Regions from separate parts of the Homo sapiens genome. Here all the other regions are linked to region 1. The links are contacts of gene promoters, found by promoter capture Hi-C in blood cells and fetal thymus (Javierre and others, 2016). All regions are on one chromosome and are shown on one strand. Each heading gives the region's core, a stretch centred on a gene start or on the middle of the fragment in contact. The rest is flanking DNA. Distances are from core to core; before and after follow the strand shown.

Region 1 (2,544 bases), core at 29-2,528:
GGGCCAGCTGAAAGATTTATTCTGCATTGATGACAGGGGGTACAAGCTTGGGTGTAAAAACATCGGCCTCTCGTATTTGGCTGTAAACACTCTAGGGTGTGCAGGGGAAATATAGGAGTATGGGATAGAACAGAATGTTGGTTCTGGATGGGAGCTTAAACATCATCGAGTCCAAAGGTTCTTAAAGTATAGGCCTCAGGCCAGCAGCAGAAGCAACAGCTAGGAACTTGTTAGGAAGGCAAATTATGGCCGGGTGTGGTGGCTCACACCTGTAATCTCAGCACTTTGGGGGGCCGAGGTGGGTGGATCACTTGAGGTCAGGAGTTCATAGACCAGCCTGGGCAACATGACGGAACCCCGACTCTACTAAAAGTACAAAAATGAGCTGGGCACAGTGGCAGGCACCTGTAATCCCAGCTACTCAGGAAGCTGAGGCAGGAGAATCGCTTGAACCTAGGAGGTGGAGGTTGCAGTGAGCAGAGATCTTGTCACTGCACTCCAGCCTGGGTGACAGAGCGAGGCTCCATCTCAAAAAAAAAAAAAAAAGGCAAATTGTTGGGCCCTACCCCAGAGCTACTAAATCAGAAACTCTCGGGGTGGGGCCCAACAATCCTTGTTTTCACAAGTTGCTTCTAGGTGATCTTAATGTACTCTAAAATTTGAGAACCCCTGATCTAGTTTGCCATCTTCACTTAGAAATGAGGGAACAGAGGCCTAGAGAGGGAACTTTTGCCAAGAGCACACAGCTAGTTAGGATACAGCCACTCTCCCCCTCACCCATATGGTCTCAGCTATTTATTTTGCAAATAACTTGGGGGGATTTTAATACATTTTTTCTTAGAGGCAATTGTTGTGTGGTTTATATATTTTCCATTTGTTAATAAGCTACTTAGATCAGTAGTGTCGCTGGGACCCAAACTATGGAATTATTTTCCATTAAAGTTCAGGCTCTTGGAAGTGGACTTGGTAGCTACATGGTCCCTTTCCAGTCTGGCCCCAAGCTCAGGTGGACAAGTCACACTCCCCTGGCTGCTCCCCAAGACACTGGCACCATCTTCCCCTGTCTGTCCCCAGATGCCCTCCCTGTAATGACACCACCAGCACCATAGTCTTGCTCTGTGCAGATGTTTTGGTCAATAATCCCTCCCTTAATTTACCAGGCCAAGTGAGGGTGGATGTGGCAAGAATAGTTTCGCCCACTGGCCTTTGCTGCCTTCCTGGGAAGATCTGCCTCTTCTTCCGGCTCTCACAGTGGGCCCAGCATGTTTCCAATATTGCATCAGTCTTTTCCCCAACAGAGTAACGCTTTAATGGGGCAAATTTGTTCTCTGCACGGGAAACATGTGGGCCCTTGTCAGGTGCTGCATCAGAGTGAGTTGCCCTCCACCAGCTTCCTAGATCTGGCCGTGTGAGGAGGCAGAAGGAGCCCTCTGAGACTTTGGGGTGAGTAACTCTTCTAAAAGAGCAGAACCATAATAGACTGTGTTTACATCAGCTCCGATTCCTGGGAAATTCATACAAAAGTTGTGTTGTGGTCTGAATTTTCTAGCAAACAGAGAAGGAAGCAGTTTGTCCAGTGTCACTAGACCTTACTGAAGGATTTTACATGCAGTGGGAAGGAAGAAACCCACTCCCTTCATCCTCCAAAAACCGGGATGGAGATGGTTAGCAAGGGGGTGTGGGAGGCAGCCCAGGGTAGGACAGAGTGTCCAGTCCCTCTTGTCAGTGAGAGCCTTCCTTGACCCCAAACCTTAAGAAATCAAATCCCCACTCTCCTGGGAACTTGGTTTTCTCTTCCGGAGCCCAGATTCGTTCCTGAGCCCCGAAATGCTGAAGCCAGCATTCCTCACCTCCAGGGAGCTGTGACATCCTGGGATGGTTTGTTTGATTCACCAACATCCTCTCTGCTTCCCCTGACCAATCAGGGGTCTATAACTTGCAGTTAAATAATTAAAGTCAATTAAAGTTTATTTCATTTTGAGCATTTCCCAAAGCCCTAGAGTAAATTGGAGTCTCCCTGGAGTATTGCAAAGCCGGGTTTGGAAATCTCAGATGAAGAGAATGTTGGGCAATGGATGATGGAGAAAAAGGAGAAACAAAGAGAAAGAGGTGAGGGAAAGAGCTTTCAGTTTCACTGGGTCTCCGCTTGGGGAGGATCTGGCTGGTTTAATGGTGATTCGATGCAAAAACCGTTGATTCCATTCTGATGTACTCAAGAACAGAGATGGCTGGAGACAGAGACAAGGAGAGTCAGAAAGCGACAGAAAGTAAGTCTCTCCGGGCCTCTCCACCCAGCCAATGACAGTATCACTTCAGGAAGAGACACTCCCTGTTCCCCAACTTCGGTTCCCCCTCCGCCAAAACCGTATGATATTTTAGGGAAGCCCCTCTTTATTCATTAGAAATCGGCTGCTTTGAGTTTGGCCCCTAAAAACTTGCCTCCTGCCCCGGAAGATTTATTTTATTAAATGGTCCACACCTGAAAGTAATTGAGTCTCGGCGTGGGTGCGGGGACTGCGGAGGGAGGGTCCAGGCGCGGCAGCG
Region 2 (2,544 bases), core at 14-2,513, 410 kb after region 1:
TGTGCAGGGCACAGTGGCAGCTTCTACACGAAGCACGCAGACTCAGGATATATGGTCCCTGCCCTCAAATCCCTCACTCACTGGACATCTCTCTGGTTAACCATTTCCTTCTCAACCTTTGCTCTCCGATAATCCCCCCTTTCTGATCTTTCTGGATCATCTGTAATACTGGAATTACATTTTGAGCTAGGGCTGGCTGGGTGAGGATGTGCATGCTGTGTGTGCCTGAGGGGCTTGGGAATAGCATTAGCTTTCCAGGTCAGCAAATTAGCCCATCATTCCGTAGTAGTGGAGGGGTGGAAGACAGCTAGGATCTGGTCCACTAGGCACTCCATGGAGTTTCAGAGCTGAGGCTGATGCTGGCTGGATAACATGCAGACCAAACTTGTCACCCCATTCTGGCTGGTGGAATTGTGCTTCCTTTTTAAGGACTTCTCATGGCCCTGGCCACCTTCTCTGTGCTGGTGGCCTTGGTATCCTCAAAGCCAAAGCTGAAGCTCCATTCCTGGGCACTAAGCCTCCACCACCTTTTGTCCTTGCCCTCTCCTCTGACCCCATCCATGAAACTCGAGAGCCCCTTTCTTTCCCAGGGCTCTGTTTAACACTGAGGCCAGAATAACTGTGTCCTGGTAGCTTTATTTTTAGGGCCTGTAAGAGGGAATAAGGAGCCTCTGGAGACAGGCCTCCCATGTGTCAGGGAGGGTCCTGGGCCCACAGGTGCCAGCCACACCTCCTGCAGCTTTGGAAGTCCAGTGCCAAATCTCAGCCACACCCCCATATCTGCTCCCTGGGGTGCACATTTCTCATCGAGAGCATAGCTCTTATGCAATGAGGTGGCTGTGGGCAAACTGGCTGTCCAGATGCCTAGGCTTAAGTCAGTGCCCTGGGACCTCCCGAGTTATGCTGGTGGCCAGTCTCTTGGCCTCAGCTCCTGAGTTAGGAAGGTAGGTGGCCTCAAGCTGAAGGGATGCTTTGGCTTGACTTCCACCACCTGGGCTCATGCCCCTTGTAGAGTGGATGATACGCAAAGAGTAGAGAATCTCCAAGTGCTTTCCTGAGTCCGCGCTTTTCCTGGGAGTCCCAGACGCAGACCAGTCAGGGTGAGAGTGGACTGGGAATCCAAGAATCTTCAGAAATTATTCTTCGGCTTGAAAGTCTGATGAATGAACTGATTACGGCTGGTGCAGAAAGTGCCCCGTGGACACTCTATCACTGGGTGGCAGCCTGGGTATGGATTTGGACTGGGCTTCAAAGATTTTATTTGGACCCAAGAGGGAGAAAAATGGCTTTCTGCATCCCACGGAGTGCTTCCTGGCAAAGGGCAGTGGGCACTTGTGCATATGTCTCCCAAGCCACCTTCTCTCCTTTGACCACTTAGATCTGGATCTTCCTTCTAGCCTTAAGCAGCGTCCTAAGAGTGGTGTCTTCTCTTCCTCTCTGTCATCCCCATGCTGCCCTGGTTCCCATTAGTCCTTACCTTCCCCAGGCCCTAAAAGTAGCTCTTTCCCAGGGCTGGAGTTGCCCCGGCCTTGGGAACACCCCAGCTTGGGGACTAGTGAGGCCCCAAGGGGTGCAGGTACTAGGTGGGACTTGATGTGTCTCTCCAACAGGAGCAGAGGGACACTGGAAAATCACTGGCCCCACTGGAGGTGCCTGAGCTAGGAAGATGAAAGAGGATGACACAGGGGACTGTCTTTTTTTCTCACACAGCTGGCAGCTCTGGCCTGGGGTCGGAGAGACAAATGTGTTGGGCGTGTGCCTTGTCAAATGAATTGTCTTTCTTTCTCTCTCATCAAATATTTACAGAGCATCCCTATCACCAGGTGCTGAAGCCACGATGGTGAGCAAAACATGCTCTTCATCCTCATAGAGCTTTATGGAGGTAAGAGTTATTGGGAGTTTGGTCTTGGTGAGATTTATTGGGAGGGACCATATTTTGGATTTGGATTTTCAATATTCTGTCCCATAGTTCCCTCAACTGATTGCAGTGTCCTAAAAAAAGCTGGTAATCCTGAAATCACACTGCATCAGTCAGACTGTTACTTACGCCAGCAAACATCACAAAAATCTTTTGTTAGGCCTCACGTCCCAGTTTTTAGTCCAGAAGGTGTGATTCCCATTCAGCCGGGGCTTCCAAGCCCCTGACGTAGAGCAGGGATTTGAATGGAAAAGAGAGAAGCAGCTGCGGCCCCGTGCCTGGAAAGCCCAAGTGTGCTCTCCTCCTGTTTGTGAAAGCCTCTCCTTCCCCAGGTCAGGGCAGGGCCTGTGACCCACTCCTCTGTCTACTGCTCCAGACAGGCCACCTGGACTTCACCAGTCTCCTAACAACCTACAAAGTCTCCCTGGATAACAGGATGTGACCTTTCTCATGTCAGCGAGGTTTGCTGGAGGATGTGAGAGCTGAAGCCAGAGGCAGTCCACAGCTGTGAGGTGATGGAAACTGGTAGGAAGGGGGATGTTATGGACTGAATTGTGTCTCCTCAAATTCACATGCTAAAGCCCCAACCCCGAAAGTGGCTGTGTTTAGAGATGGGGCTTTTGAAA
Region 3 (2,544 bases), core at 19-2,518, 390 kb after region 1:
GCGCGATCTCGGCTCACTGCAACCTCCACCTCCTGGGTTCAATCAATTCTCCTGCCTCAGCCTTCCAAGTAGCTGGGATTACAGGCACCCACCACCACGCCTGGCTAATTTTGTATTTTTAGTAGAGACCGGGTTTCACCATGTTGGCCAGGCTGGCCTTGAACTCCTGACCTCAAGTGATCCACCTGCCTCAGCCTCCTAAAGTGCTGGGATTACAGGCGTGAGCCACTGTGCCCGGCCTGACATAATACTCTTTACTTCAGTATTCCCCCCAAATCAAGGACATTTTCTTGTAAATATTAACATGAAAATTGGTACAAATATCGAAGTCAGGAAATTAATATCAGAACAATACTATCATCTGATGTAGACTATTTTGCCAATTGTCCTAATCATGCCCTTTACAGCAAAAGGAACATTGTTTTGGATTCTCTCTTGACACACAGGCAAGGGTGGGCTAGAGCCATGGCCAGCAGCCAGGAGGCTGGGTAGCCTCGGTCTTCCTCCCCGTGGTGGAGTCCAGTGGAGGCTCTACACCGCACCCTGGGCGAGAGAGAAAAGCCTGCCTGGTCCCGCCGGCGGCTGCCCAGGAGGAAAGTAGCCTTCATCCCCTGCTTTCCACTCGGCACCTTCTCTGCTTCCAGACATCTGCCCCCATCTCCACGGTGCCTGCTGGGCACTGTAGCAACAAAAATGCAAGTGTCAGCTCCGGCTTTGTGTTGTCACCATCCAGGGCCCTCATTCTAGAGTCATGCTACCTGAGTCTGAATCCTGGGCCTGCCCCTTACTGACTGTGTGATCTTGGGCAGGTTATTGAACTGATCTGTGCTTCGGTTCCCTTAAAATGAGACAGATAGTACCTCATTTACAGGATTGTGGTGGTGTGTGGCTGGGAAGAAGTGATTTTATACATGTAAAGGGCTTAGGATGCTGCCTGGTCAGTGGCCATGCTTGCCAACATTCATTGTTATGTGATCAAGCTTGATGCTTTGCTGAGGGGGCAGCTGGATCTCTCCTCACCACTTCCCAAATTAGCTTGAAATGTTAGTGGCAGGAGCATCATGAAACTGATGTCTAGTCCTCTAGTTGGGAGCATCAAAGAGGGTCCAGACTAGGGGGAGGAGGATCTCCCAGGGGTCATCTCATCTCTCACTCTGTATCTAAGTCAGCATCTCAGTGTTACCTTGATCAGTGCAGCACCTGTCAGCTGAGTTTCCCGGCTAGATCTGCCTAGGGATGTGCTAGATGCTCCCCAGGACTAGCCCCATTATATCCCTTCTAGCCAGCTGTTCTGAAATTTATACCTGGGGTTTGTTTTAATTAGGTATGGTAGGACATGCAGACATGGACATGATTGTCATGAAGGAAGAAGTTTATACTTACAGACCCCTAGACATAGGAGGCATGTAGGGCCACATTGGGAAGCACTGGGGTCAGTCAGGAGGTGGAGGTTGGGGGGGAGTTGTCTGGGGTGGTCAAGGGAAAGGAAATTGTGACATAGAGCCTTTATTGCATTATTACATGAAGGAATGGGTGACACAGGGTAGGTATTCTGAGTAAGCTTAGAATTGTATAGTTTGAGTAATTTCAGCGGACTCTGGGCTGGAGGAGTGGTATTTGACCCTGGGGTGGTTTAGGGCAGGGAGAAAATTGGCTTGCTTTTTGAGAGTTTGATAAAGGAGAGGGTTGGGGGTGTGGGCTGTGGGTGGGTTGGTTCGTATATCAAAGACAGGCTCACAGGGGAGTCTTTCGCCATGCCTAGGAATTAGCTAGTCCTGTGAGGGCAGTCTCTCAAGGATCAAGGCCCCAGATGCCAGAGCATCAAGAATATGGAAAATCAGAGAACATGATCAATATACCAGCTCATCCCTGGATGAAGCTCCCTGCCTTTCCTCATACAGGCGAGTGCTCTACTCTCCCTTCCCCAGTAGCACTGGTCCGTAAGCCAAGGAAAGGACTCATGCATTGAATTATACTTAGTTGCCTACACGTCTGTGTGTTCCACTGGACTACAAGCTCCCTGAGGGCAGGGAGAGGAGCTTACTCACCTCTACATGCTCAGTGCTTGGCACAAGGGCCAGGTGACCTCATTGGCAGAGGAGGAGGTGTTGCTGTGGTGGGCCACAGGCCACTGACTGTCCATATGTGGGTCACGTGGGCACTTACTCCCTGATTTCAGCCACTGGAGACCTCTTTTGGGAAGGAAGTCCCATGGCCTCATTTGCTTACTTCTGTATATAGCTGTTGAGTGAATGGGAGGATGAATTTAACATTTACTGAGTGCTTATTTTAGGTCAGGCATTGTTCTAGGTGTTTAGAGTTACAGAGAAAATTCAGACAAAATTCCTGCCCTAGAGTTCTTAGTCCAGAGGGAGGCTGATGTGTAAGCCATCACTGAGCAGTGAGATAAGCACTCTGAGAACATCCCAGACCGAGGAGCAAACTGCGCTGGTGGTGGAGTGGGTGGTTACTGCAGACAATGTGGGTGGGCTCAACAGAACCTGATTGTCTGCTTCCACTATACAGACAAAAAAGTGCAATCCT
Region 4 (2,544 bases), core at 24-2,523, 330 kb after region 1:
GAAAAAGGATTTAAATAAGTACAAACATACAGGTGTTCTATGTACCAGGCATTAAGTGCTTTAAATCAATATTTCTCAATCTTTTTTCATTGTCACACCCTAAGAAAAAAATTAAGTTCTAGGGCCGGGCGCGGTTGCTCACGCCTGTAATCCCAGCACTTTGGGAGGCCCAGGTGGGCGGATCACCTGAGGTCGGGAGTTCAAGACCAGCCTGACCAACATGGAGAAACCCCGTCTCTACTAAAAATACAAAATTAGCCAGGCGTGGTGGCGCATGACTGTAATCCCAGCTACTCGGGAGGCTGAGGCAAGAGAATCGCTTGAACCTGGGAGGCGGAGGTTGCAGTGAGCCGAGATCACGCCATTGCACTCCAGCCTGGAAGACGAGCGAAATTCCGTCTCAAAAAAAGAACACAAAAAATTTAAGTTCTAGTTAATTAATTGAAATAAACCAGTTTCTCTCTGATGAGAGAAAAAAATGTGCTAAGTACTGCTGAGTTCTGGAGGGCCACAAACACTGCGTGAAAAACATCTAGGATGTTTTCACTCTTGTTAAAAACGCATGTTTTAGTACTAACTCATTTAAAACAACTGTTGAAAAACTCAAGTTACCTCCTGGAGGGTAAGTGGAAGCTGAGGGACATCGGTGGGAGGCAGGTGTCTCTCTGTACCCTTTACACTTTTCCAGTTTTGAATTTTACATAGATACTGCTTGTTCGAAAAATTTAAAGAATGATTTTTATCTACTTAAGCACCAAGTAACTGATAGGTTACACACAGGAGATACGTGTTTGTTTACACTGCAGGGCTCGACACTGCACAACTGGCACAATCTTCCCAAAAGTCAACCCGTTTTCTAAAACTTCCGCAGAACCACCCTGACCGTAAAGACGATTTCAACAACGAGATAGGCAGTTTTGGCCCGTGGCCTGGGCCCGGGAGACTCGCTCAAGAGGGAATGTGCGGTGCCCGGCAGGATTTTAATTCCGGGTCACCCGCCCCGCCCTGCGGCCTTGGGTAGAGTTTAGCCCCCTCATCCCGTGTCCCGGGGGTCGCGCGACGTCCCCGAGACGCCCTGGCCGGTACTCGCAGCTCGCGCCTTTCGTTCCGCTCAAGTTCCTCCGCCGCGACCTCAGGACAGGCCGAAGAGGCGCGCACTACTCACGTGTCTTCCAAGTGCTGCTCCAAGGTCGCCTCCATCCCACCCACCGACCACTCCGGCTCAGAACCCAGCGGCACGGCACGTCCTTCTCCACCACAGGCCTCAGTCACTTGACGCGAGCGGGGCGTGGACCGTAACGGCGCCTCCAAAGGGACAAAATTGATCACGGTGCAACGTCCGCGTTCTTTACTGGAAAACATCACTGCGCTTCCGTCGCACAGAGCCTGACGAAGGCTTGGGCTCCCCGCGCGGTGACCGTCGAGGTGACCTGCACCTGGCTCCATGGCGGAACCGGCCGGCACGGATTATTCCCCTCTCGGGAGAGGTCTGCAGCCGGGCCTCAGTGCTTCAGTTCGTGGCCTGGCATTTTGTGTCAGTGTTTTTTAACCTTTGGACCCTAGTTCAACCGACTCCGAGACCTAGGGGACAGATCTTAAGTTTTACAATAACCCAGGGGTCAGACAGGGTCTGATCTAGCCTGTGGGGCAAGTACGGGGAAGACACGGGACCTCTTGGAGGGGGTCAGTAGGCTTGTAGGGGGAAAGACGCACACAGAGACTAAAGGACGAGATGGAGCAAGGTTCAACCCCCTAGCTGAGTGTTGGCAGTGTCGGGATTTTAACGAAGACATTGGTGCTTATTATGGTGAGGGGACTCAGGACAGTTTAGGGGAAGAGAGTGGCATTTGAGTCCTAACTCGTAAGGAAGACTGGGTAGGACTACTTGAAAATAACTTTTAAAAATTAATTATAAAGCTGGTAAAAATAGGAAAACATCTATGGCCCCACTGTCCAAAGACGACTTTTAACTTCTTGGAGAATATCCTTTCAGATAGTTGTCTTTGTAAATGTATACTTTTAATGTTTTTTCGTTTGCCTTTTTAAAATAAATTTTTTGGGGGACAGGGTCTTGCTCTGTTACCCAGGCTGTAGTGCAGTAGAACGATTATAGCTCATTGCAACCCGGACGTCCTGGGTTCAAGCTATCCTCACCTCTCAGCCTCTCGACTGGCTAGGACCACAGCCTCGAGCCATCATGTCTGGCTAATTTTTACGTTTTTTTGTAGAGATGGGGGTCTCGCTGTGTTGTCCAGGCTGGTCTTAAACTCCTTGCTTCAACAGATCCTCCCACTCCAGCCTCCCAAAATGTGATTACAGGCTGAGTCACCACGCCTAGCATGGTTTTTTTTGTTTTGTTTGTTTTGTAAGCAAAATTGACATACATACTGGAGGTACAATTCTGTAGCTGGCCTTCTTTACAGAGTTTAGAATAAATGTCTTTCCATGTCAAGTTTTCACTTACATCCTTTGTAGTAGTTGCAAAATATTCCATTTTATAGCTGTATCTTAATTGTGGATTAAGGTTGGAGTGCAGTGGCACTA

Evidence for each region. The method cuts DNA at HindIII sites, captures the fragments that hold promoters and counts their contacts. A CHiCAGO score of 5 or more calls a contact.
Region 2: a fragment that was not itself captured here is called in contact with the fragment with the promoter of LINC01397 in region 1 in 1 of 17 cell types (fetal thymus); the score reaches 5.9 in fetal thymus.
Region 3: a fragment that was not itself captured here is called in contact with the fragment with the promoter of LINC01397 in region 1 in 1 of 17 cell types (fetal thymus); the score reaches 5.6 in fetal thymus.
Region 4: the fragment with the promoter of LAMTOR5 here is called in contact with the fragment with the promoter of LINC01397 in region 1 in 7 of 17 cell types (neutrophils, naive CD8 T cells, erythroblasts and 4 more); the score reaches 7.7 in neutrophils.

What each region holds. Positions count from the first base shown.
Region 1 is chr1:110,081,410-110,083,953 of GRCh38, forward strand. It overlaps LINC01397 (long intergenic non-protein coding RNA 1397), which reads left to right and starts at 1,279. Exons shown (of 4, transcript NR_126382.1): 1 at 1,279-1,443. The HindIII fragment of the contact is 6,914 bases long and covers 45-2,544 here.
Region 2 is chr1:110,496,312-110,498,855 of GRCh38, forward strand. No RefSeq gene overlaps it. Among named protein-coding and RNA genes, the nearest start is that of CYMP-AS1, 7.3 kb to the left of the region's middle. The HindIII fragment of the contact is 5,167 bases long and covers 1-2,544 here.
Region 3 is chr1:110,472,182-110,474,725 of GRCh38, forward strand. LOC105378899 (a long non-coding RNA gene) reads right to left here and starts at 1,465. Exons shown (of 2, transcript XR_947699.2): 1 at 1,384-1,465; 2 at 361-679. LOC105378898 (a long non-coding RNA gene) reads left to right here and starts at 1,576. Exons shown (of 2, transcript XR_001738181.1): 1 at 1,576-1,613; 2 at 1,763-1,901. The HindIII fragment of the contact is 581 bases long and covers 979-1,559 here.
Region 4 is chr1:110,406,421-110,408,964 of GRCh38, forward strand. LAMTOR5 (late endosomal/lysosomal adaptor, MAPK and MTOR activator 5) reads right to left here and starts at 1,274. Exons shown (of 4, transcript NM_001382293.1): 1 at 1,166-1,274. The coding sequence starts at 1,200. It overlaps LAMTOR5-AS1 (LAMTOR5 and SLC16A4 antisense RNA 1), which reads left to right and starts at 1,389. Exons shown (of 3, transcript NR_102697.1): 1 at 1,389-1,534. RefSeq lists an enhancer at 1,216-1,445. The HindIII fragment of the contact is 8,453 bases long and covers 1-2,544 here.